7 separate regions of the Homo sapiens genome follow, and all the other regions are linked to region 7. The links are contacts of gene promoters, found by promoter capture Hi-C in blood cells and fetal thymus (Javierre and others, 2016). All regions are on one chromosome and are shown on one strand. Each heading gives the region's core, a stretch centred on a gene start or on the middle of the fragment in contact. The rest is flanking DNA. Distances are from core to core; before and after follow the strand shown. Region 1 overlaps SECISBP2L (SECIS binding protein 2 like). Region 2 overlaps DUT (deoxyuridine triphosphatase). Region 3 has its middle 2.4 kb from the start of CEP152. Region 4 overlaps FAM227B (family with sequence similarity 227 member B). Region 5 overlaps COPS2 (COP9 signalosome subunit 2). Region 6 overlaps SHC4 (SHC adaptor protein 4). Region 7 holds the start of RSL24D1 (ribosomal L24 domain containing 1).

What was found. Contacts are between HindIII fragments. The CHiCAGO score rates a contact against its expected background, and 5 or more counts as called.
Region 1: a contact is called between a fragment that was not itself captured here and the fragment with the promoter of RSL24D1 in region 7, in 1 of 17 cell types (non-activated CD4 T cells). The highest score is 5.1, in non-activated CD4 T cells.
Region 2: a contact is called between a fragment that was not itself captured here and the fragment with the promoter of RSL24D1 in region 7, in 4 of 17 cell types (non-activated CD4 T cells, naive CD4 T cells, total CD4 T cells and 1 more). The highest score is 11.3, in non-activated CD4 T cells.
Region 3: a fragment that was not itself captured here is called in contact with the fragment with the promoter of RSL24D1 in region 7 in 9 of 17 cell types (naive CD4 T cells, non-activated CD4 T cells, naive B cells and 6 more); the score reaches 18.3 in naive CD4 T cells.
Region 4: a contact is called between a fragment that was not itself captured here and the fragment with the promoter of RSL24D1 in region 7, in 1 of 17 cell types (non-activated CD4 T cells). The highest score is 6.2, in non-activated CD4 T cells.
Region 5: a fragment that was not itself captured here is called in contact with the fragment with the promoter of RSL24D1 in region 7 in 5 of 17 cell types (naive CD4 T cells, non-activated CD4 T cells, activated CD4 T cells and 2 more); the score reaches 10.4 in naive CD4 T cells.
Region 6: a fragment that was not itself captured here is called in contact with the fragment with the promoter of RSL24D1 in region 7 in 1 of 17 cell types (activated CD4 T cells); the score reaches 5.5 in activated CD4 T cells.

What each region holds. Positions count from the first base shown.
Region 1 is chr15:49,041,039-49,043,757 of GRCh38, reverse strand. The region is part of intron 1 of SECISBP2L (SECIS binding protein 2 like); the gene reads left to right. It also overlaps the pseudogene RN7SL577P. Among named protein-coding and RNA genes, the nearest start is that of SECISBP2L, 4.0 kb to the left of the region's middle. The HindIII fragment of the contact is 5,750 bases long and covers 1-2,719 here.
Region 2 is chr15:48,333,576-48,336,709 of GRCh38, reverse strand. DUT (deoxyuridine triphosphatase) reads right to left here. Exons shown (of 7, transcript NM_001025248.2): 3 at 2,202-2,293; 4 at 620-664. Among named protein-coding and RNA genes, the nearest start is that of DUT-AS1, 3.3 kb to the right of the region's middle. The HindIII fragment of the contact is 2,422 bases long and covers 507-2,928 here.
Region 3 is chr15:48,811,942-48,815,063 of GRCh38, reverse strand. No RefSeq gene overlaps it. Among named protein-coding and RNA genes, the nearest start is that of CEP152, 2.4 kb to the right of the region's middle. The HindIII fragment of the contact is 4,636 bases long and covers 1-3,122 here.
Region 4 is chr15:49,613,290-49,616,402 of GRCh38, reverse strand. FAM227B (family with sequence similarity 227 member B) reads left to right here. Exons shown (of 16, transcript NM_152647.3): 2 at 1,160-1,282. The coding sequence starts at 1,232. Among named protein-coding and RNA genes, the nearest start is that of FAM227B, 6.0 kb to the left of the region's middle. The HindIII fragment of the contact is 173 bases long and covers 1,294-1,466 here.
Region 5 is chr15:49,150,271-49,153,383 of GRCh38, reverse strand. All of the region lies in intron 1 of COPS2 (COP9 signalosome subunit 2), which reads left to right. Among named protein-coding and RNA genes, the nearest start is that of COPS2, 3.8 kb to the left of the region's middle. The HindIII fragment of the contact is 6,239 bases long and covers 1-3,113 here.
Region 6 is chr15:48,879,502-48,882,593 of GRCh38, reverse strand. All of the region lies in intron 4 of SHC4 (SHC adaptor protein 4), which reads left to right. EID1 (EP300 interacting inhibitor of differentiation 1) reads right to left here. Exons shown (of 1, transcript NM_014335.3): 1 at 2,421-3,092. Among named protein-coding and RNA genes, the nearest start is that of EID1, 2.9 kb to the right of the region's middle. The HindIII fragment of the contact is 2,452 bases long and covers 394-2,845 here.
Region 7 is chr15:55,195,672-55,198,817 of GRCh38, reverse strand. RSL24D1 (ribosomal L24 domain containing 1) reads left to right here and starts at 1,877. Exons shown (of 6, transcript NM_016304.3): 1 at 1,877-2,008. The coding sequence starts at 1,928. RefSeq lists enhancers at 1,913-2,072, 1,866-2,757. The HindIII fragment of the contact is 1,416 bases long and covers 476-1,891 here.

The DNA.
Region 1 (2,719 bases), core at 210-2,709, 6.2 Mb after region 7:
AGGAGTATCCTCTTTCAGCACTTTTTATAGAGTATTCTCTGTATTTAATCAAAATAGCTAGCTTAATTTTAACTGCCAGAGTTAAATATTCTAAGAATATGTGTTGCTTGGTATATAATGCATTTTTTCCCCTGAAAAAAAAAAAAAAACTTGCATTTTGAGATGTGAAGGATAAATCATGGAGTTCATTTTGTTTATAAAGGCTTACTGGTTCTATTTTTAGGAAATTTATTGAGATTTTTTAAAGTAAACAATGGGCTTAGAAGTGACAGAACACTTGAGGTTAACAGTCTCTTTTCTGTTATCACAAATAATTTAAATGTTGGCTTAATTTTTAGTACATTAACATTAGTTCTTTTAAAAGAATTTATAAGATTACTAGTTATTAATGTCTTTAATTTTTGGAAAAACTAATGAATACGTATGATTTCATGCAACATGCGTTTTACCAATCAGGATAGAAAATTGTCTAGCTTTTCATTGTTTCCTTTAAATAATTTATAAACTTTAAGTAATGTCAGTACTCCAAATGAAATGTATTCTAAATAAGTTATTTTAAATGTTTATTATTCAGTAATACGTATAGTTGGCCCTTACGTAAGGATATAAGTAAATGAGCTGTCTTATCAGATTTAAAAAATAATATGTTCATAATAAAAAAGTATTAATATATACATTTAGGGAAAATAGCATTTGGAAATTTAAAAAGACATTTTCTGTTTTTTCTTTTTGAGACGGAGTCTCACTCTGTCACCCAGGCTGGAGTGCAATGGTACTGTCTCAGCTCACTACAACCTCGCCTTCCCAGTTCAAGCAGTTCTCCTGCCTCAGCCTCCTGAAGCTGGGATTACAGGTGTGCACCACCACACCCAGCTAATTTTTGTATTTTTAGTAGAGATGGGGTTTCACCATGTTGTCCAGGCTGGTCTCGAACTTCTGACCTCAGGTGATCCACCCACGTCGGCCTCCCAAAGTGCTGGGATTACAGGCTGAGCCACTGCACCTGGCCAAAAAGACATTTTCAAGCTCTTAGGTCAAAAAAGAATAAAAAGTAGTATGATAGGTTATTAAAAATGTGTTAATAATAAAATACCACATATGAAAAACCTATGGGGCCCAGCATGGTGGTGTACACCTGTAGTCCCAGCTGCTAAGGAGGCTAAGGCAGGGGCATCGCTTGACCCTACCTCGGTGTTCTGGACTGTAGTGTGCTATGTGGATCAGGTATCTGCACTAAGTTCAGCATCAATATGATAACCTCCCTGGAGTGGGGAAACTCCAGGTTGCCTAAGGAAGGGTGAACTGGCCCAGGTCAGAAATGAAGCATGTAGAAACTCTGGTGCTGATCAGTAGTGAGATCACACCTGTGAATAGCCACTGTACTCCAGCCTGGACAACATAGTGGGACCCCATCTCTAAAACAAACAAACAAACAAACAAAAAACCTATGGAATGTGGCTGAAGCTATACTCTGAGGCAAATGCATAGTCATAAATGCCTTCATTGTTAAACAGTTTACAAGGAGAATGAAAATTAAGCATCCAAGGCAAGAAGTTAGAGGGGAAACTCCATCAAATCAAAAGAGAAAATAATAAGTTAAAAACAAAGTAGTGGATAATTCAGAAACTAATATTAAATCTAGAAAGCTGGTTTTTTAAAAAAGTAACCATCAGATTTAAAAAACATTAGATTTGGTCTGTTTTTTAAAAAGGAAAAGTATGGGTAGCAAAGCATTCTGCCCAGTATGGGCAGAATCTAAGTTAAATACTTTGATTTGTCTTCCTCATTATTGTCTGGAGTCTGTGAAACTTACACGTGTAAGTACTGTGTTTTGTTTCGGCATTTTAATCAAAAAAACAGCACAGCTAGTAGTTATCTCTTAAGCATTAATCATTTTTCCCTTCAGAGGACATTTATTTTATCTTTTGCCATGAGATGTAAAATATCTTAAAGTTTGAGATATTCTATTTTTACCTTAACATAGAAAGAATATGGAGGGTTTCCATGGTCATATTTTTTCTGTGGGTGTGTGGTACATACTCTGGAGTTTCACTGTGGGAGAGTGTCTCGTTATGTTCCAACTTCAGTTTTGATTTTAAGTGGGTGTCAGTTTTTTATTGCTTAATCTGGGAAAATTATTTGCATTCATCTGGAGGTTCCATGTCTGAGGAATTTAGTGTACATTCTCTGCCGACGTGTGCTTTGTGGTAATGTTTGCCCATTTTCCCTAACCCAGTCCAGCACAGTGCTCTTTCCGGAATGTATGCTAAATGCACGTTTGTTGAATTATATAGGCTCTCAATGATCTGAATACATTTGTCTAATAAACTCTTTTAAATAACATTTTTGTTTCATACTCTGACAGAGTCTTGAGCTTTCTAGATTATTTACATCAAAGGCATTTTGTTTATAGACATTTGCCTTAATGTACACAAAATAAAAAGTGAACATGAAACTGCTTAAATATTTTTACAAAGATGATTCTGGGACTATGATTTTTTTCATTAATTTGGAAAATTCTGAAATAATTTCTGAAAGATGAAGATAGTTTTGCTATGTAGATGGTTGTGCTTTTTTGTGAAGCAAATAATACAAGAATGATTAGACTTTGTTAAGTGTAGTTTACATTTATTCCATATTTATTTCCTTTATGAAGACAACTCTCTGCTATGAAAGTTCTTATTCCTAAAAAATAGATCTTGGCAAAAGTAGAGAGACT
Region 2 (3,134 bases), core at 468-2,967, 6.9 Mb after region 7:
CCACATAAGTGGGGTCTGAATCCCAGTTGGAGCGGACCTGAAACAAGGAAACCACATCAGGAAAGTAGAAATTTCCTTACAATAAGAGGAGTAGCTCTGTATCAAGAGTAGTTAGCAGAGGACACTGAGGGTTCTTCATGAAAGGTACCACATGAGGTAGGGTTAACTTTGAGACAAACATGAGAAAGGCTTTATTATAAGGGAAACAGGTAACACAGAGGACTGTCTTAACAAATTTAGAGAAAAGTGTTTTCTCTCCTGACTTCAGGGAAAGATTTTCTTCTTAAATTTTGCTAAAGACAGATAGCTCTCTTATGAAGAAAATTCTTACAAGATAGACCTGTGTTTTCTAGAACTTTTGTTGCTTAAATAATTACTTAATTATTATATCATTAAATCTGTCATTATTAATTAGGTAATCATTATTTTAAAAATTAAGTTAGTAGTTAAACAAAATATAATTACTTAAAATAACCACAAAGCTTTTCCTCCTATTATAACAAGCTTTCCTCTAATCATTTTCTTTTCTTAAAAATAAAATCTGTCATTTGAATATTACCTTTTAAAGACAAAGTAAATACTTGCAAACATTTACAGAATAAAAAAGGAAATATATTACCTCCTACATCAATAAAGTGTTTTGCAGCCAAGCCTGACCGTGGAGCTAAAAAACAAAAAAGGAGACATTGGTTATTTTAAGGGGGAAGGGCTATATCAGAGATAACTGATGCAATTTAAGCATGTCATTCTCTTCACCTATAATATCTATATCTTCATCTTAACTTTAGCACATGGTTTTGAATTAAAGAATATATATTCATCATACTGCATTACCAAAGTTGGAAAGACTAGTTTAGAAAAATTCCACAAGGTTTTAATTCAAAACTAACTTAAACCACTCCCATGTGACTTCAGTCAGAATTTGTGGTGCTGCAGACAGGGGAGAAGGACTGCTAGAATGAGCTGAAAGGTGAGCAAGCGGGAACAACTGTAGGCTGCTCTTTCAAGAAGTTAAGCCTCAAAGGGGAAGAAAGAGAAGTATGGCCAGCAGGAACACACTACTGAGGAAGAAGACTTTGGTTTTAAGATGGGACACCACAACATGTACAATGCAGATGGGAAGGGAAAGGAAGAGGAAGGGAGAGGGAAACAAACCTAACCAAATAGTAGCAGACCATAGCCTACAACTTGGGACCCCACTATTCATGATTCAGATGCCAAAAGACATGCCTGTAGGAAACACATGAACCAGAGTAAGATAAATGGGCTAATATCAGTTAAGTAAAAATGCCAAAAACTAAGTCTCAATGATTCAATGCTAGTATACTTTTTAATCCTAAAAAATGAAAAAAATAAAAAGCTAAGGTTACACCTTATTATTGCAGACTCAAGCATCAGGCCTATAATTAATTATCCTAACTTCCAGCATTTTATTTTAGAATAATTTAAATCAGGCACTTTGTCAATAATGCTGCCTCTTTCTGTACTAACCTTTATTTCACTCCATCTCCTGCCCCTTCCCCTGAAAAAATTCTAAAAAATGGAGTCAATGATGCTCAAGAGATGAGATGAGAGCCCATCTTGTTATCTTTTAAGGGCTGAAGTACTGGCAGTTTCCTCACTCATGGCTAATAATATAGTGCCAGTCTAGCTCCTTTCCCTGGAGGAGGGCGTCACAGCTCCATTGCCTCCTTTATGTTTACTCTGAAGTTAGTCAAAAAGAACTTACGCTCTTGCAAAGAACTGTCTGGTAACAACTGATCCGCTCCAGAAAAATCAAACCTGTTGACGTGTACTCCATTTTGTCCTAGCTCCTCCCAGTGCCTCTACAACACTGAAGAGTATCCCTTACCCTAACCCCATGGCCAAACAAGAAAAGGTTAAGTAGGCTTACACATTCTGGGACCAACAGGTCAGAAGTTTTACTCTCATAATATAAAATGCCATGTTCTGAGAACAGCCTTCTAGGCCAGTGTGAGCCTAAAAGCTCCAGTGAGGAAGGAGAAAAATAAAAGGGTCAAAAAGAGGCAAAGCAGAGATGTAAATAAAGCCTTTCAAAGAGTGCATTTGCTATCACAAATGGTGCTTCTTTTAGGACACAGCCCAAGCAATATTGCCTGCTTATTACCCCAAATGAAACATGAAGAATCTATCACAAAGGAGAACTTGACAAATAGTTACCTGTTTCTTAAATGACTTACCCACTCTTCCATAACACCCAGAAGGGAGCGCTATCTGAATGTCCGTTTTCACAACAGCTTTCTCCATAGGTGGTATTGTGTAATCATAGGCACTAAGAAAATATTGAAAGAAAATAACTGCAAATCTATTTATAAAATTGTTTTTATATTTTCTTTGTGACCAAGCATACAAAATTACTTTCAGTGTATTTAATGAATTAATGCAACTTTAGTTTCTAAAATCAACCTTGCTATGATGAATTACCAATTCATCTTAAAAGTTTATGAAGAAGGTAGAGGTGGCTATTTTATTATTAAAAAGACAGCTTTAGATAAAATAATTCTCCATGAATATTTTTGGTGGTGTGAAGAGATGTCAACATTGTAAATGTTTGCCCCTGAACAAAAGTTTATTGGAAACTGAGGTACTTATCAGCGTGAAAGGGCAGAAAGGCAAACTTTCAAAAGGTGGATGCTTTACAACCATAGTTTGAAAAGGAAAAAAATGAAGAAAGAACAAAGAAAAAAGGCCAAATACTACTAATAATACTAGCTATCATTGATTAAGCCTTTACTGTGTGCCAGGAACAGTTCTAATTGGTTTACATATATTAACCCATTTTATTCTCACAATGATCTGTGTGATTAGGGAAAATATGCAGAAGGAAAGGAGAAAAACGGGTGGACAAAATAAGAGATAAAGAACTGTGTTGTATCTGTCAGGCAGGGCTTGGTAGTTTACCAAGCTTAGGCTATGAATTTCCTGGCTGAGGGAGACAGCTGATCACCGTGAACGGCCCCTGGAGATGGACCTTGCTTAGGAACAGAATTCCTCTAAAGTCCACATAGCAAATGCTGCTACTCTTGATATTACTGTGGCCCTCTCCTGGGTAGAAATTTAAGAGATTTTACAATGAGCAGAACCGGAAGTTTACTTTGGAGACCTTAATTAAC
Region 3 (3,122 bases), core at 296-2,795, 6.4 Mb after region 7:
CACTTTGCATAGCACTTCTGTGATGACATTGCTTTAACCTGATAGCTTTGACACCAAAAAAGAGGAAAAGGGAGAAATGATGGTTTAGCTTTACCTAAGTTTAATCCCGAATGAGCTCATATTAAACAATTGTATCAGCAAAAACCATATTTCCAAATAAAGTCACATTCTGAAGTTCTAGGTGGACATGAAATTTTAGGGAACATGATTCAACCTCTACAATGACCCAAGCCAGCTCAAGTCAAAAAGTTTTTAAGGTTTAGTTATCACAGAATGCAAGGAAAAGCTAAACTGTCTGGCTTTTCAAAGTACAGGAACCAGACAGATACATGGCTTTCAGTGGCAAAAGTTCATGATCTTCAGTCTAGGGTCTACCATGTATATGACACAGTTATGGAGGAAGCATATTTCCCATAAAATACAGGCAAGTGTAATAAAAGTCTGCTTCTCCTCTGTATGGCTACCACCTTGCTCAGTTTTGTGGAATCTTAGTTATCTGGGAAGGGAATACGATTGGCCCAGCTTGGGTCTAGTGTTCCCCTTTGATTCAGTCAAGTCTGGCCAGGACCGTGGGTGGTAGGATGGTGATGGTGGTGAGGTCATAATGACTGTGAGCAGGAGCAGATTCTGTGAGAAGGGACTTGAGCAGAGTGGGCATTTTGATCCACATGTCAATATTAAATGATCCCAGCACAGTGTTTGGCACAAAGTAGGTGTTCCCAAAATACTGTTGAATAAGATGTAAATAATGGTCTGATCTTCCTTGGTTCTTTCCAAGTACTCCTGTTCCATCTCTAGCACTTCCTATTTTTGTCCTGTTCTCATGAAGCCATATCCTTTGTGTAGACTCTTTGTTTGTCCCATCCCATAAGCTCCTGTTGCCCTCGGCACACATTCACCCTTGTCTTTCTCTGCCATCCACTCCCAGAACACCTTCCTGGTTTTTCCTTACTACCTCAGACCCCAGTGTGTACTCTAATCCAATAAGCCATAGTACATAGAAACACAATGGAAAATAATGTTTTTACATTTAAAAGCTGTTTCTCACAATCTCATCTCATTTTTTTTTGGCCACAATCCTGAGAAGTGGGTATTATCATCCCTATTTTCAGATAAGGACTTTGAGGCTTTTGAGTGTTAAATTGTTATGGACAATGCTAGTAGGTAGGAGAACTGGGACTTGAACTCAGATCTTCTTACTCTAAGTTCTGTGTTCCTTTGAAGATAGTACTCCTTGATGATAGCACTTTGGATAGCACTCCTGTGATGACATTGCTTTGACCTGATAGCTTTGACACCAAAAAGGAGGAAAAAGGAGAAATAATGGTTTAGCTTTACCTTTATAAATGCTTGTTAGTGGGAGGGACCCCATCTCATCAACAATGTGACATTTTCTCTTGAAATGTCTCACCCAGCTCATAGGTGTGCCCATTTAAAACATGCAAGGTAAACATCGAGCCAACGTTTCACAAATAATCTTTTGTCCAGCATTTGAGATCTTTGGCAGTTTTACTTTCTTCTCCCACACTTGCCTTTCTTATCCCAGAATGCCTCTGTCTGCTTGTGTTTCTTTGGATGTTAGATTCATTCCTTGTGCACACCATTACCTGACCTCTGTAGAATGCCCTTCCTATTCTCCCAGGCTTAAAGCTCTTCTATGGACCACCTCCTTCCTGCCTTCTTCTCCAGACTTACATCTAAATGTAAGATTCCTGCACTTTTGCTGGTCTGGCCTTTAAATTGCACTCATGCTAATCAACTGACCTGTTGAGCTCTCTCCTTCTCTTCTTCCTTGAACCTGCCTTGATAGATTCATCTTTAGGTGTTCACTTTCCCTAGAATTATTGCCTATTCTACTCTTATTACACTTAGTAAACAATTTTTATTATTATTTATCTTTCTACGTAAGCATCTTGTAACTCAGAGTGTTGGTACCTTGAGCATAGGGGTCCTACCCTGCACCTAGGCCAGGACTTAAACAGGATAGGTGGTCAAAGAAATTTAGTTGAATATATCCATAACTCCACCAAAAACCATTTTTAGAGGCATGGCAGGATGGGAGGTTGATTTATTCTTTATTTTCCCTCTTTGTCACGTATATGCTAGTCTCACTAAAATATTTTGTATGTAGTGATGAGCTCTGGGTTTGGAGATAAAGGACCTGGTTTCAGATTCTGTCTGCCTTGTATTAGCTGTGTAGCCTTGGACAAGTCATTTAATTTATTTTTATGTAAGTTTCTTCAACTGGAAAATGGGTAGGAATACCTGTCCTAACCCCCCACAGTGTTGTAGTGAGAACCAAATGAGATGATGCTTGTGAAAGAATTTACCAATCTGTAAAGCACTGTGTAATGGATTATAAACACTGCCTCCTCATGTGCTTACCCTGACACGTTTTATGCTTTCATCCTTCTAAGAAGCAGTTGTTTGTGCATGGGGATCACCTGGCATTCTTGCTGCAGCACTCCATCATAACCCTCAGCACAGAATGCAACATACAGTTTGCCAATCGACTTCAGTGGGATGTGAAAAGTGAAAAGTGCATTTAATTCTCACTAAGATGCCTTGGCTCAGATTCAACAAATGCCATTTACTTGAAGGCCTTTTATTTGCTTTTTCTGCCTGCCCCCCTGCCAAAATCTTCATCTATTTGTTCATTTATTCATTTACTCATTTAACATAATTGTTTTGAGTGCCTACCAGGGTCATGTTAGACACCCAAGAAGTAAAGTGAGTACTTCAAGATATTCACGTTGTACTGAGTGTAAGACACACAAAAACTTACAGTAGATAAAAGAACTATAATAGGATATATAGGATACACTGTGTACAGAGGTAGGAAAGATCATTTTTGCGAAGTGAGGGAGTGTGTGTCATGAAAGGCTTCAAAGGAGGTGCTAGTCTGTCTTCAAAACTAAGTAGCAGGAGAAGGTAGAGGCGATGCAGGTGAAAGAAACAGCTTTCACAGCAGGTGAAAGAAAAAAAGCGCTCTGGGAACCATTGTTAGCTCAGGCTGTGATTTCGTTCATTCTATTACAGTGGGTTAAATTACCTGTTGTTTGCCAAACCCTATACCAGTTTATGGGGTTACAGGGGTCAGTGTAGGCATCATGGGGGCGGAC
Region 4 (3,113 bases), core at 131-2,630, 5.6 Mb after region 7:
CAGCCAACAAGCAAAGTGGCTTAAAACAACACAAAGTTTATTATTTCATAGTTCTAGATATTTTCACAGATAAAATATCTGTGTGTATATGGAGAGAGAGTATAAGCAAGCAAGCTCTCTGGTGTCTGTTCTCATAATGACACCAATCATATTAGAGCCCCACTCTTTTAGTCTCTTTTAACCTTAATTGTCTCCTCAAAGGCTCCATCTGCAAATAAAGTCACATCTTGTTATAAGTGTTAGGGCTTGAACATATGAATTTGGGGTGGGGGCATGATTAGGTCCATAACAGTATCCTTAATTTAAAACTCCCCCATAATTTCAGGTTCAGGTTCAGGGAACATAACTAGCAGTGTCCACCAAACATTTAAGGAAGAAAGGAAGAAATAGTACTGATCTTTCAGATTTTAAATTCTTTCAGATAATAGAAAAAAATAGAGGCATTTCCCAACTCATTTTTTTTGAGACCATAATAGCCTTAATTCCAAATCTTCACATTATAAGATAGAAAAATTCAGGCCAATCTTTCTTATAAACATTATAATAGCTTATATTATTAGCCTTCCCTTGTCCATTTCTTGTTATATGCATGTCGTTTGTCATGTGACGTAGTAGAACCTCCAGCTTCATGAGCAGAATATATTTTCCAGCCCTTCCTCCCCTGCTGCGTTAGTCCGTTCTCACATTGCTATAAAGAACTACCAGAGACTGGGTAATTTTAAAGAAAAGAAGTTTAATTGACTCACAGTTCCACAGGCTGTACAGGAAGCATGGCTGGGGAGGCCTCAGGAAACTTACAATCATGGCAGAAGGTGAAGGGGAAGCAGATGCGTCCTACATGGCTGGAGCAGGAGGAAAAGGGTGAAGGGGGAGGTGCTACACACTTTTAAACAACCAGATCTCATGAGAAGTCTATCACAAAACAGCACTAGGGGGATGTTGCAAAATCATTAGAAACCACCCCCATGATCCAATCACCTCCCACCAGGCCCCACCTCCAACACTGGGGATTCCAACAGTTCAACATGAGATTTGAGTGGAGATACAGAGCCAAACTATCTGACTTGGTAAAAGTCAGAAGTGAGGTTTGTGGGTGAGGGGAAAGGGATTGTTTGGCTGAGTCATTTATTTTTGCATTTGGGTGTCTTTCATACCCCAGTTTGGTCGCCCAACTCACATTGAAGCCTAAGACCCAGCTGATTTCTCTTCATTTCTGCAAAGTTACTGTACCATGGCAGGCCAACGAACATGTCAAAGGAGGAGCAGCAGAGCTGGCCCCGGGGTAAGGAAGCTTCCACAGCTTTATGTTCACTTACAAAGGTTATATTTCTCTTGGAATTTCAGGTAATCAGGGCTCCCAGGTAGAGCTGGCTTTGTCACTGAAACACCAAGGGTTTGGTCTAGGTCTTAATGCTCGCTGCACAGATGGCCAATCACTGAGATGAGTATTGCCAAGGAAGAAAGCTTTAATAGGGTGCTGCAGCCGAGGAGATGGGAGATCAGTCTCAAATCCATCTCCCTGACTGACTAAAATTAGGGTTTTATATAGCAAGGAAGAAATGTAACCATGTGTGGGAAAACAGAAATTAGGGAGTGGTGGTAAGAAGGAGGAGTTGGTTAACAGGAAACAGGTAGTCAGTTAGGCAATCATGATGGGTGATGGTGAGGAGTCTAGAGGCTAATTGTCAAGATATAGTGATTTGGTATGTTTTAGTTCCTTGACACTATCTGGGAGGCCTGATGGTTAGTTTTCTGGGAAAGGAACTCAGATAAGACCAATGTAACTTTCTCAAGTTTTAAGACTAGAAGGATTAATTTCTATATTTATTTAAAGAAACCATAAACATTAGTTCTATGGGACAGTTAGGCTTGTTTTTAGCTTCATGGGTTTACAACTTCTGCAGTTGCACAGGGCCTTATGCTGAGAAGTACATGCATTTGGTTTAATGCTCTGATGTTATTATCTTCAAACTCAATAATTTTGAACAAGGAACTCTGAATGTTTACAAGTTATTTAACTGGTCCTGCCTCCTGGCATTCACCACTTTTCACTAACCCCATAGAAAAATATGATTTTTTTTTTGTCCAAGTTTGTCTTATTATTATCATGGAAGTGTAGGTGTTTTATATCCTTCTACATCCTACCAAAAGTAGAAATCTGTTTAATTTATACCTTACCTTATTTTAATTTTACCCCAAAAGAAACATGGAATTTTTGAAATTAGTTAGAACTTCACTATGCAAGTTTCACTTTCTTCACTTTTCTAATTCCCTTTAATTTAAATGTGCATATTATTTTTGGTGCTTTGTACTTGGAGTGGTTTGACAGCCATTACAAGAAAAAAAAGTCAATGCTTAAATTGTTTTCATTAAGTTTGATTCTGTATATTTGTAAATGTATTGTGAGTTCCTTCTAGCCAAATTGCTATACCCATGAAGCTAGAGATATTATATCGTGAGTATTTTTCTGTCTGTAAGCCTTTTGCATGCACCATCTCTCATATCTCTCATTCTTTTCAATTTGACTAGCTCTAGAGTTCCCTGTTTCCCATAACATGTTCTTCACATCTCTATGCATCTTTGCTTCTGTCTAAACATTTGCTTTCCTTTTTCAAATTTTTATTTTTAATTTTTAAGGGTACATCATAAGTATATATATATTTATGGCATACATGAGATAATTTTTGATACATACAATATATAATAATTATATCAGAGTAAGTGGGGTATCCATCATTTCAAGCATTTATCACTTATTTATGTTGTAGACATTCCAATTATACTCTTTTATTTATTTTAAAATGTGCAGTAAATTATTGTTGACTATAGTTAGCCAGTTGTGCTATCGAATATTAGATCTTATTCATTCTCTCTAGCTGTTTTTATTTGTCCGTTTGTTTTTTAGAGAGAGTCTCGCTCTGTCACCCAGGCTGGAGTGTAGTGGCACAATCTTGGCTCACCGCAACCTCCGCCTCTGGGGTTCAAGCGATTCTCTCACCTCAGCCTCTCGAGTAGCTGGGACACCTGGCTAATTTTTTTGTATTTTTATAAGAGACTGGGGTTTTACCGTGTTGGCCAGGCTGGTCTCTTGTACTGTTGACCTCAAGCAATCC
Region 5 (3,113 bases), core at 525-3,024, 6.0 Mb after region 7:
ATAACCATTCTAATTGTGGTTTTGATTTGCATTTCTTGGTAGTGATATTGACCTTTTTTTTTTTCATGTATGTGTTGGCCATTTGTATGTCTTCTTTATTTATTTACACATGTATATATTTTTAGAGATGGGATTTTGCTGTGTTACTCAGGCTGGGCCCAAACTCCTGGGCCCAACCAATCATCCCGCCTCAGCCTCTTAAGTAGCTGAGACTACTGGCACGTGCCACCATGCCCAGCTGTATGTCATCTCTTGAGAAATTGCATTTGTATTATTAGTTTGTGTTTGTAAGTGTTTCTGCTTACCTCTTTCCTAAGCAATAGTCTGTTGGATACATAACTTATTAGCACTGTGATCAAGCTGATGATCATCTTTGAGAATGTAATGTAGCAATAGCAGTGAGAATCTTTTTGTCCCATGAAGTACTTGATTAACTTTTGCAAGATTTTTTATTAAACATACAGTGTTTTAACTTGGTCATATTTTCCCAGCCTTTTAGGGCCTACGCTACATGAGCAGTAAAATGAAGTTGAATATATAATTGCTTTAACTTTTTTTTTTGAAACAGAGTCTCACTCTGTTGCCCAGGCTGGAGTGCAGTGGCACAATCTCAGCTCACTGCAACCTCCGCCTCCCAGGTTCGAGCGATTCTCCTGCCTCAGCCTCCTTAGTAGCTGAGATTACAGGCGCCTGCCACCACACCTGACTAATTTTTTGTGTTTTTATTAGAGGCGGGGTTTCACCATGTTGGTCAGACTGGTCTTGAACTCCTGACCTCAAGTGATCTGCCCTCCTCAGCCTTCCAAAGTGCTGGGATTACCGGTGTTAGTCACCACAACCAGCCTTGTTTTAACTTTTTTATTTCTTAAAGTAAGATTTTGCACTACCACATAATGAAATGAAATGTTGGAGTTTTCTGTTGGGTTTTTTGTTTTTCTTTCCCTAGCGTTCTATTAAATAGCTCTTCCTCCCCTCATCTGTCTCTCATCAGGTGTCTAATTGTAAAATTATTTATGATCAATTTACTAACAGTTAAAACTTTTGGTGGCATAAAACTTATTTAGTAATTTGTTTTTCATTTCCTTAAATCATATATTTAAAAAAAAAAGATTAATGAAGCAGGTTACCATTTCATGCTTACCTTTTGCCAAAAGAGTTTTTCTTTTTTTAAAATAGTTATTTTGTCTGGGATTTTCTTTTTTTTTTTTTATGTTTCTTAGTATTTAAAAAATGTGCGTAATTGACTTGTTTTCTCAAGATTTATTTTTATAAAAAATGTATTGTTTTTTGGAAAATTGATCATCACCTCGTTTTAGTTAAAGTGTTAACTAAGAGCAGTGAGTATTGCTGACCACAGTGATACTCAGCATATCTTTATTGGTCGTCCAATGATATATTTTAACACCCTAAATCACTTTGTTCTTCCCCAATCTGGTAGAAATAGGTAGTTAGGATACCACCTGAAAAATTAAGTCTGTTTCTAAAACTGTACTGTTTTTACCCAAGAAAGTAAATAATGATTTCTGCCCAAGAAGAATCTAAAATAAAACAAACTTGTTATTTAAAAAAAAAAAAAAAGAAACGAATATAAAAGAAATTCAACATACATGCATGATCATGTATGTTCTAAGATCTGTTTGATTTTCATTAGAGGCAGAAGCAGGCATTTCTAAACATAGTAATCTGTGGTAGGTGATGGTGCTAGTAAATGACATTTAATGCAATGCTAATTTTACAGGTTTATAGATTATTTGCTGATCCAGTAACACTAAATAATAATCATAGTGCCATTCATTAAGTTGGTAAGGCCATTGATAAGCTAACTGTTTTAATTCCGCAGTCCAATCGTTCTACCGTGAAACTTCTAATAATCTTTTTAGAAAGAATTTAAGACCAATTGACTTTATTCCAAAAATTAGTCTTTAGTAAGTCCTGTTATATGTAGGATATTATATATTTGAATATAATTTTTTTTTTTTTTTTTGAGACAGAGTTGTGCTCTTTCGCCTAGGCTGGAGTGCAGTGGCATGATCTCGGCTCACTGCAACCTCCACCTTCTGGGTTCAAGCAATTCTCCTGCCTCAACCTCCTGAATAGCTGGGACCACAGGCACCCACCACCATGCCCGGCTAATTTTTATATTTTAGTAGAGACAGGGTTTCACCATGTTGGCCAGGCTGGTCTCAAACTCCTGACCTTTGGTGATTGGCCTTCCTCGCCCTCCCAAAGTGCTGAGATTACAGACGTGAGCCACCACGCCTGGCCTATATTTGGATATAATTATTTAAATGTATTACAAGGAAAACATTGTCTAAAAGTTAGAATAATTCCACTTGGTTAAATATATGACCATATGACCAGCTGTGAGCCTCATTATATTCCCCTAGTCAAGCTCATAGTTGGGATTAGGGGATAAATGTTTACTAGTATTGTTCTTCTTGTCTTAATATATAGCAGTTTTATTTATTTTTTTTAACTTTTAGGTTCAAGGGTACATGTGCAGGTTAGTTATATAGATAAGTTCGTATTACAAGGGTTTATTATACAGATTATTTCATCACCCAGGTACTAAGCCAAGTATCCAATAGTTATTTTTTCTGCTGCTCTCCCTCCTCCCACCCTTCTCTCTCAAGCAGGCCCTAGTGTCTGTTCCCTTCTTTGTGTTAATGAGTTCTCATCATTTAGTTCCCACTTATAACAGAGAACATGCAGTATTTGGTTTTCTGTTCCTGCATTAGTTGGGTAGGAAAAATGGCCTCCAGCTCCACCCATGTTGCCATTATTTTTTATGGTATAGCAGTTTTAATGCTCTACATTTTTACTTATTTGTCTATTTTTTTGTGTGCAGTGGGGAGGTAAATGAGTCTTAGCTACAGGATCTCTTACAGACTCTCGTATTTGTCATCCTTTTAATAAAAAGATCAGTAGAAAGATGATGGTCGATTGCCAGTGCTATGTACATAGCGAACATGTATTCAATATAAATGTTAAGTTCAAAAAATATCAAAGACGGTATAATCCATATTATCCCAATTTTGTTAGGTGGGAAAAATATAGAAAAATGTCTGCAAATAAATTATCAATGGTTTTATTTATTTATTTATTTTTTTATT
Region 6 (3,092 bases), core at 370-2,869, 6.3 Mb after region 7:
TTTATGAATGGGATTGTGGTATATGTGGTGGGGCAGAGTTTATTCTCAGCCTCTCTTTCCCCTTCAGTACCCTTCTTTAGGGCAAAGTATTACTACCCATCCATAATCTTTCAGGCAAAACAGAGGTGAGGATAACGGGTGGTTTTCATTACCAGTAACTATAGTAATATGATGTGCCTTTGAAAGTAATCCATAGCTTTTCTGCACTGGTGGCATGGAATGGGTTGTATTCAGCCCACTGCTAGAGTGGGGACCAAAGTTAAGATCTCATTTATCTCAGACCTGAGGGCTGATTTTTAATAACTATTTTGAGCTTTCCTGCAGGCCTAGGGGAAATGGCTGGGGGATATGGGGGAGAGATGTGCCACTGTAGAGGCCTCAACTCAAGAAGCTTTATTTCCCATGAGAAAGGCAACTAAAATGTTTAAGAAATGAAGGCAGCAAAGATGAGAGACCTTGTGGATACAGCACAAGAAAAGGATTAATTAAATCCTTAATGCTACCACTGGAAGTTCTAAAATAAATACAAAGAAATACTAATGCCTTCCCCATCCCCACTTAATTTCTAAGATATGCTTTGGACTGAAAACAAAGGTTCAAATTTATGGATATATTCATAGATGATAGCATTTATGGAACGGATAGTTCACATTTATCTTTGGCCACTGAGAACATCAAGAATATAACAATTCATTCCCAGAAAATATTTTACAAACCTCCAGAGGCAGAAAATATTAAACATGCGATGCTTGCAATTTTTAAATATTACCATATTTCAGGATGGGAATACATTTTTGCAAGGGTAAGTTATAGGTATTTCCTTGTTTTAAAATTCAAGCAACAGACTTTATTGACATACTTTAATATAGTATTTTAGGGCCTCAAGCAAAGTCAGAGTCTCAGTTGCTCACACTCCCACTAATTCTTTACTGATTTCTACAACTCTAACAGGTACTGAATTCAGAAGGGTAATAGAGTTAAGGTAAAACAGGCAAAAATTGAGACATCCTTTAGTCTCTACAAGGAGAGGCAACTTGAGATATTTAGAGGCCAAGTAGGTAATGCAAGCTGTGCAAGCACAAGAAAAAACAATGGTGCAGGCCCAATGATAAATGTCAAGTGCTACCTGGCCTCTGTGTTGGGGAGACAACACTGAGGGACTTGGCAAACAGAATCTTCCTTATCTAAAGGTGAATCAGATGGTTTTTTTTTTTTTTTGCTTTGTTTTTTTGTTTGTTTGTTGGCTACATAGGTCTATAGGTCAAAGGCTCCCAGATCTTTTACTTTAAAAAAATAATAATAAAAAGGTAAGAATCTAGATTTTTAGCTGCTGTCTCTGTACTGAGATGTTGGTCTCTTAAAATTATAAGCATGAACCAAACAAAATAGATCTGTGGCCTGAAGACAGTCAACATGGGATATCTGATCTAAGCGAACATTTATAATATGTATGGATAAATTTGGAAAACTCTCCCTAATCACACCGTGTACTCAAAATCTTCTTTAAATCCCCTACCTTGCAAAATCAGAATTTCCCCAGAACTCCTTTCTCTAGCTTCCTTAAATGAAGACACACACACACACACACACACACACACACACACACACTCTCACACACATCATCATTTAGTCCTCACAATTTGTAAGGTACATCCAATTGTTCCTATTTTCAGTTTAGGACATGAGCCAGAGAGATTAATTTCCCAGTTACTGAGCTAATAAATAGTAGAACCCAAATTTTAACCAAGTAGTCTGGTTTGTCTGTGGCAACTGCATGTAAAAGAAACACAAATAATTTTACACCCCTAAAAGGGGTGTTAAAATGTTTTCTATCCTCAATAAATACAAGTAAGTATTTACAATTTTCATTGTCTCTCAGCTTACTGCCTATTTTTAAGACTGAAAAACAACCAAGTCAATTGCAGAGCCCAGGTTTTTCTCCCCAAGATGGGCCTTCAGATGGAATAGTGTTTCCCACCCCCACCTCTTTGCCCTACTCAGTCCCAGAGAAAAACAGAATCACAACCTTCTAGTTTGTGGACCTCAGATTTTTTTTTCCAAGAGTTTATCTTTCCTAGTAAAGATAAACTTTCCTGGTAAAGATAAAGATCTGGAGGTAAATACAACCAGCCAGTTTATTGTGCACTAGCATACCCCCACCCACACTAATTTACATCATCCATGCAATTAATTACCTATCCACACTCATCTGACCGTAGCTGCACGCTAATTGAGAAAGCAGTGGAAGAGGCAGTAGGATTAAGTCTAAGCACCAACATTTTACTTCCACCATCTCTCCCTCCTAACCCAGCTAGTGTCTGAGCAATTCTGATCAGCCTTGTCACAGTCCTATCTTTTACAGATCTCTCTCCCCAAAAGACAGGATGACCATAAAATAAATAAGGCTCTGAATTGTCCTGTTGCATTGGATATTCGTTCTTTACTGCTATAATGGAGCAGAAGCATTTGGAACATTTTTACTGATCATGATAAAACCTGCTGATACACTTATTTTGCTGAACCTAGCCTTCTGATGTAATCATTACTCTCCTAGAACTTCAGCATCTTAGTAAGGTAACCACGGCAACATACTCATTGATAGGGCAGGTTTTCCCAGACCAGCAAATTCTTATAGGCAAAAACTTAATTTACAAAGTTTAATTTCCAGAAATTAATTTGTGAATTAGATAGCTGAAGCTGGATCATTTTCCCTTAATACTGGTTAACACATACAATAGAAAGTAGTATACAGAGAAAGTATGTATGCAATACTATTAGCCAAACAAAATACACAGAACAAGAAATTTTATTATCTCCAATGCTGGTGCATGACAAATAACAAGCTTAATTAGAGGAGGAGACAGAGGGAAACTTCAGATACCAAGGTAATTTCTGGGCAGGTTTAAAACCTTTAAAAGTTGATAGAATAACTGTTCATAAAGTCTTTTTAGATATAGCGCTTTTTACTTGACAACTTTTATTAACAGTTCTTACAATATGAAGTTCAACTAAAGTCCTTCATCTGTCAAGTTAAAACAGCAAGCAAAACAAAATTTCTCTAGTATATAACAGCATAAGCAATGGTTTGTTTT
Region 7 (3,146 bases), core at 628-3,127:
GAGTCCATTAAACCTCTTTCCTGTATAAATTGCCTAGTCTAGGGTATGTCTTTATCAGCAGCATGAAAACTAATAGAAAGGGAGAGGAGGTAAACCCAGTTATTCAAAAAATGACAATAATTTAAATATTTGGGCAGTGGCACATTAACAAATAAAACGATGGAACTGAGTCCAGAAATGGAGCCATAGATGTGACATTATGAGTGAGTGGGGGAAAGGATGCTTTATCAACATACAGCACTGAGGGAAAGACACTGGAGTCTTATGTCATTTATACTTAAATTCCAGACGAGTTGAAAATTCAAATGCAAAAAAATGAAACTACAAAACATAAGAGAAAACATTTTGAAAAACAATTTTGGAGTGAGAAGTGCAGTTTAAAGGAAAGTACCAAATCCAAAATCATAAAAAAATTGGATAAATCTGAATATATAAACAACATATTTCTGCATGGAAAAATACCATGAGCAAAGCTTAAAACATTGATAGGGAAATAATTTCTAAATGCATGTCAGCAAAGGACTAACCTTAACGTGTAAAGTGCTGTTGAAAATCAACGAAAGAATAGAAAACTGCGTAGGACCTGAACAGGCAATTCACAGAAAAAAGCTGAAAAACATTGTGAAAGATTCTTAACATCATTTGTAATTAAATTCAAGTTGAAATAATAATAAGATAAATTTTCATCTCAGGTTGGCAAAGATCACTTTTCACAGCGGGGTAGTGAAACAGACATCTTATTTGTTGATGCTGAGTGTTAATTGGTAAAAACTTTTGGAAGGCAATTTAGTATTATCTGCCAAATTTTAAAACTATTTATCTATATCCAGCTCCTCTGATCCAGCAGTTCTACATAAACCCTCTCCTGAAAAAGCGTACCAACAGATACTTATTATATCAAAAGATAAGAATGCCCATCGATTAGTGACCAATTAAAATACTTTCATACAATGGCATATATATATGAAAAAGAATGTTAAATACCCTTTTACAGTAAAATATGTATCAAATGCCTATTATGTGCCAGGGACTGTTCTAGATACTGGGATGTAGTTGTAAACCAAACGAACTGAAATCCCTGCCCCTCATGGAGCTCACATTCCAATGAAGGGATACAAGGTAACAGCAAGATGCAGAAAAGAGTAAATAGCATATTAACTAGTATTATAAAGAAGAGGACGTAGAGACAGGCAAACACACAAATATACATGTTTGCCTATGCACAGAAAAGCTCTGGCAGGTAATAAATGGAACTGTTTTGCCCCTGGGGAGGAAGACCGCAGGTCTAGGGAGGGAGTCGTAGTTTCCGGCGAAAATATTTGTTTACTACATATGCATATTAATTAAAATGGGGGGGAGGCGGATAACACGATTTTATATTTAAAAAAATTGCTGGTAAAGTCCTTGGAGCATCAGCAACTCAACCGTTTTCATTGCAATGTTCGAAGCAACGCTGGATTGCAGGGTCTTCGCCGCTTACACCCTGCAAATCACTGTGGGACGAGAATCGAGGGCTGGTCTAGGGCAGGCAGTAGACAAATGAGTTAAGAGAGTGCTCTCGAGAGCACTCCGAGGCAAAGCACAAACCAAAGATACATAATACTTGCATAAATGCCGACACACAGAGAGAAAAAACTAGGCGCTGTGAGAGCAAGTTCACAAGGTGGCGCAGAACCACATTTCCCCAAAGTAACAGCGAACAGGTCTAGTCTGCAGCTCTGCGCCTGCGTCAAACGGCAGCGCATTTGACCACACGGCCGCCGGAGGCACAGTCGTGTTCGCATCTGGTCTAACAGACCCGCGAGAACGAAGGACGCTTGCCTTTTTCCGGTCGGGGAAGGGGGAAGAAGGTAACTTCCGGTGACGGGGTTGCATCACTTCCTCTCAAGCTTGGCGTTTGTTTGGTGGGGTTACACGCGGGTTCAACATGCGTATCGAAAAGTGTTATTTCTGTTCGGGGCCCATCTATCCTGGACACGGCATGATGTTCGTCCGCAACGATTGCAAGGTAAGGCGGTCGACACCAGTTCTTGCTTCAGCCTAGCTCCCGCGGTTCCTGGGCGCGGCGGCTCGGTGCTGGGTGCTTCTGCGTCTGCCGTGTTTGGCCCGGGTTCCTCCCGTTGTTCCCCTGGGAGGGTGGCTTAACTGGGCCTCCGTTCTCAACGTTCCGCTTCGGGGGTTTCTCCTTGCCCGTCTTCCGAGCGGCGCTGGCCACCACGCCACCCTTGGGTGGCGTTGGCAGCGAGGAACTTCAGGAGCGATCCCAGCTAGCGCCTACCAGGAATCTTGGATGTCTGTGAGGGCTGTTTGGCCACTCATGTACTTGGGCCAAATTCTTGAATCCAGTAAACTTTGTTGAGTGTATACCCTGTCAGGCATTACACTAAGGTCCATACTAAAGTGTAGAGGTTGATGGAAGTGTTCCGTATTGCTTAATGGTAGAGTTATGTATTAAGTTACTGCAGGTGAGTTGGGGAGGGTCCTGTACGGAAAGACTCAGCATAGAGGTGATATTTATCTTGGATCCTGAATTTTGCGGAAGAAAGCGGAGGGGGCCTTCTAAGTGGAAGGAAAGTGAACATTTTGAGAAAAGGCAGAGAACGGAGCAAATACATTTGTTTGAGGAAGTGACTGGATTGTAAATGATGATAGAGCCTTGGGCGTAGGGCTACAAGTATAATAAGTCTGTAAACGTAAATAATAAATATGAGTCCTAGTTGTGAAAGACGTTTTGAATGGTACATGAATTTGTCCTGTCATTACAGAATGAATCCCGTTCCTCTCTTTCTCAGAGAAACACATTGTTTCTCAGAATTTGATCTCTTACGTTTGCTTCTGAATTACTGGGCGTTTACAGATTCCTGGTTTTCACCAGATCTATTGAGTTGGAATCTTTGGGGGAGGGGAAGAGGGTCTAAGAATCTGTATATTAAGGTGAATTTGACGTGCTAAATAATTACAAGTCTGACTTCTTCACCTTATATCTCTGTAACAGATCAAAGATATTGACCTCATTAATTAGATCCAAGGGATTCAGCTGAAAGTGACGGACCAAAGCCATGTTTGATAACGTAAAAGAACCTAGAAGATTTTGAATACTTGCTCTCAGGAACATGATAAGAAGTTTATAAAAATGAACCAAAAGA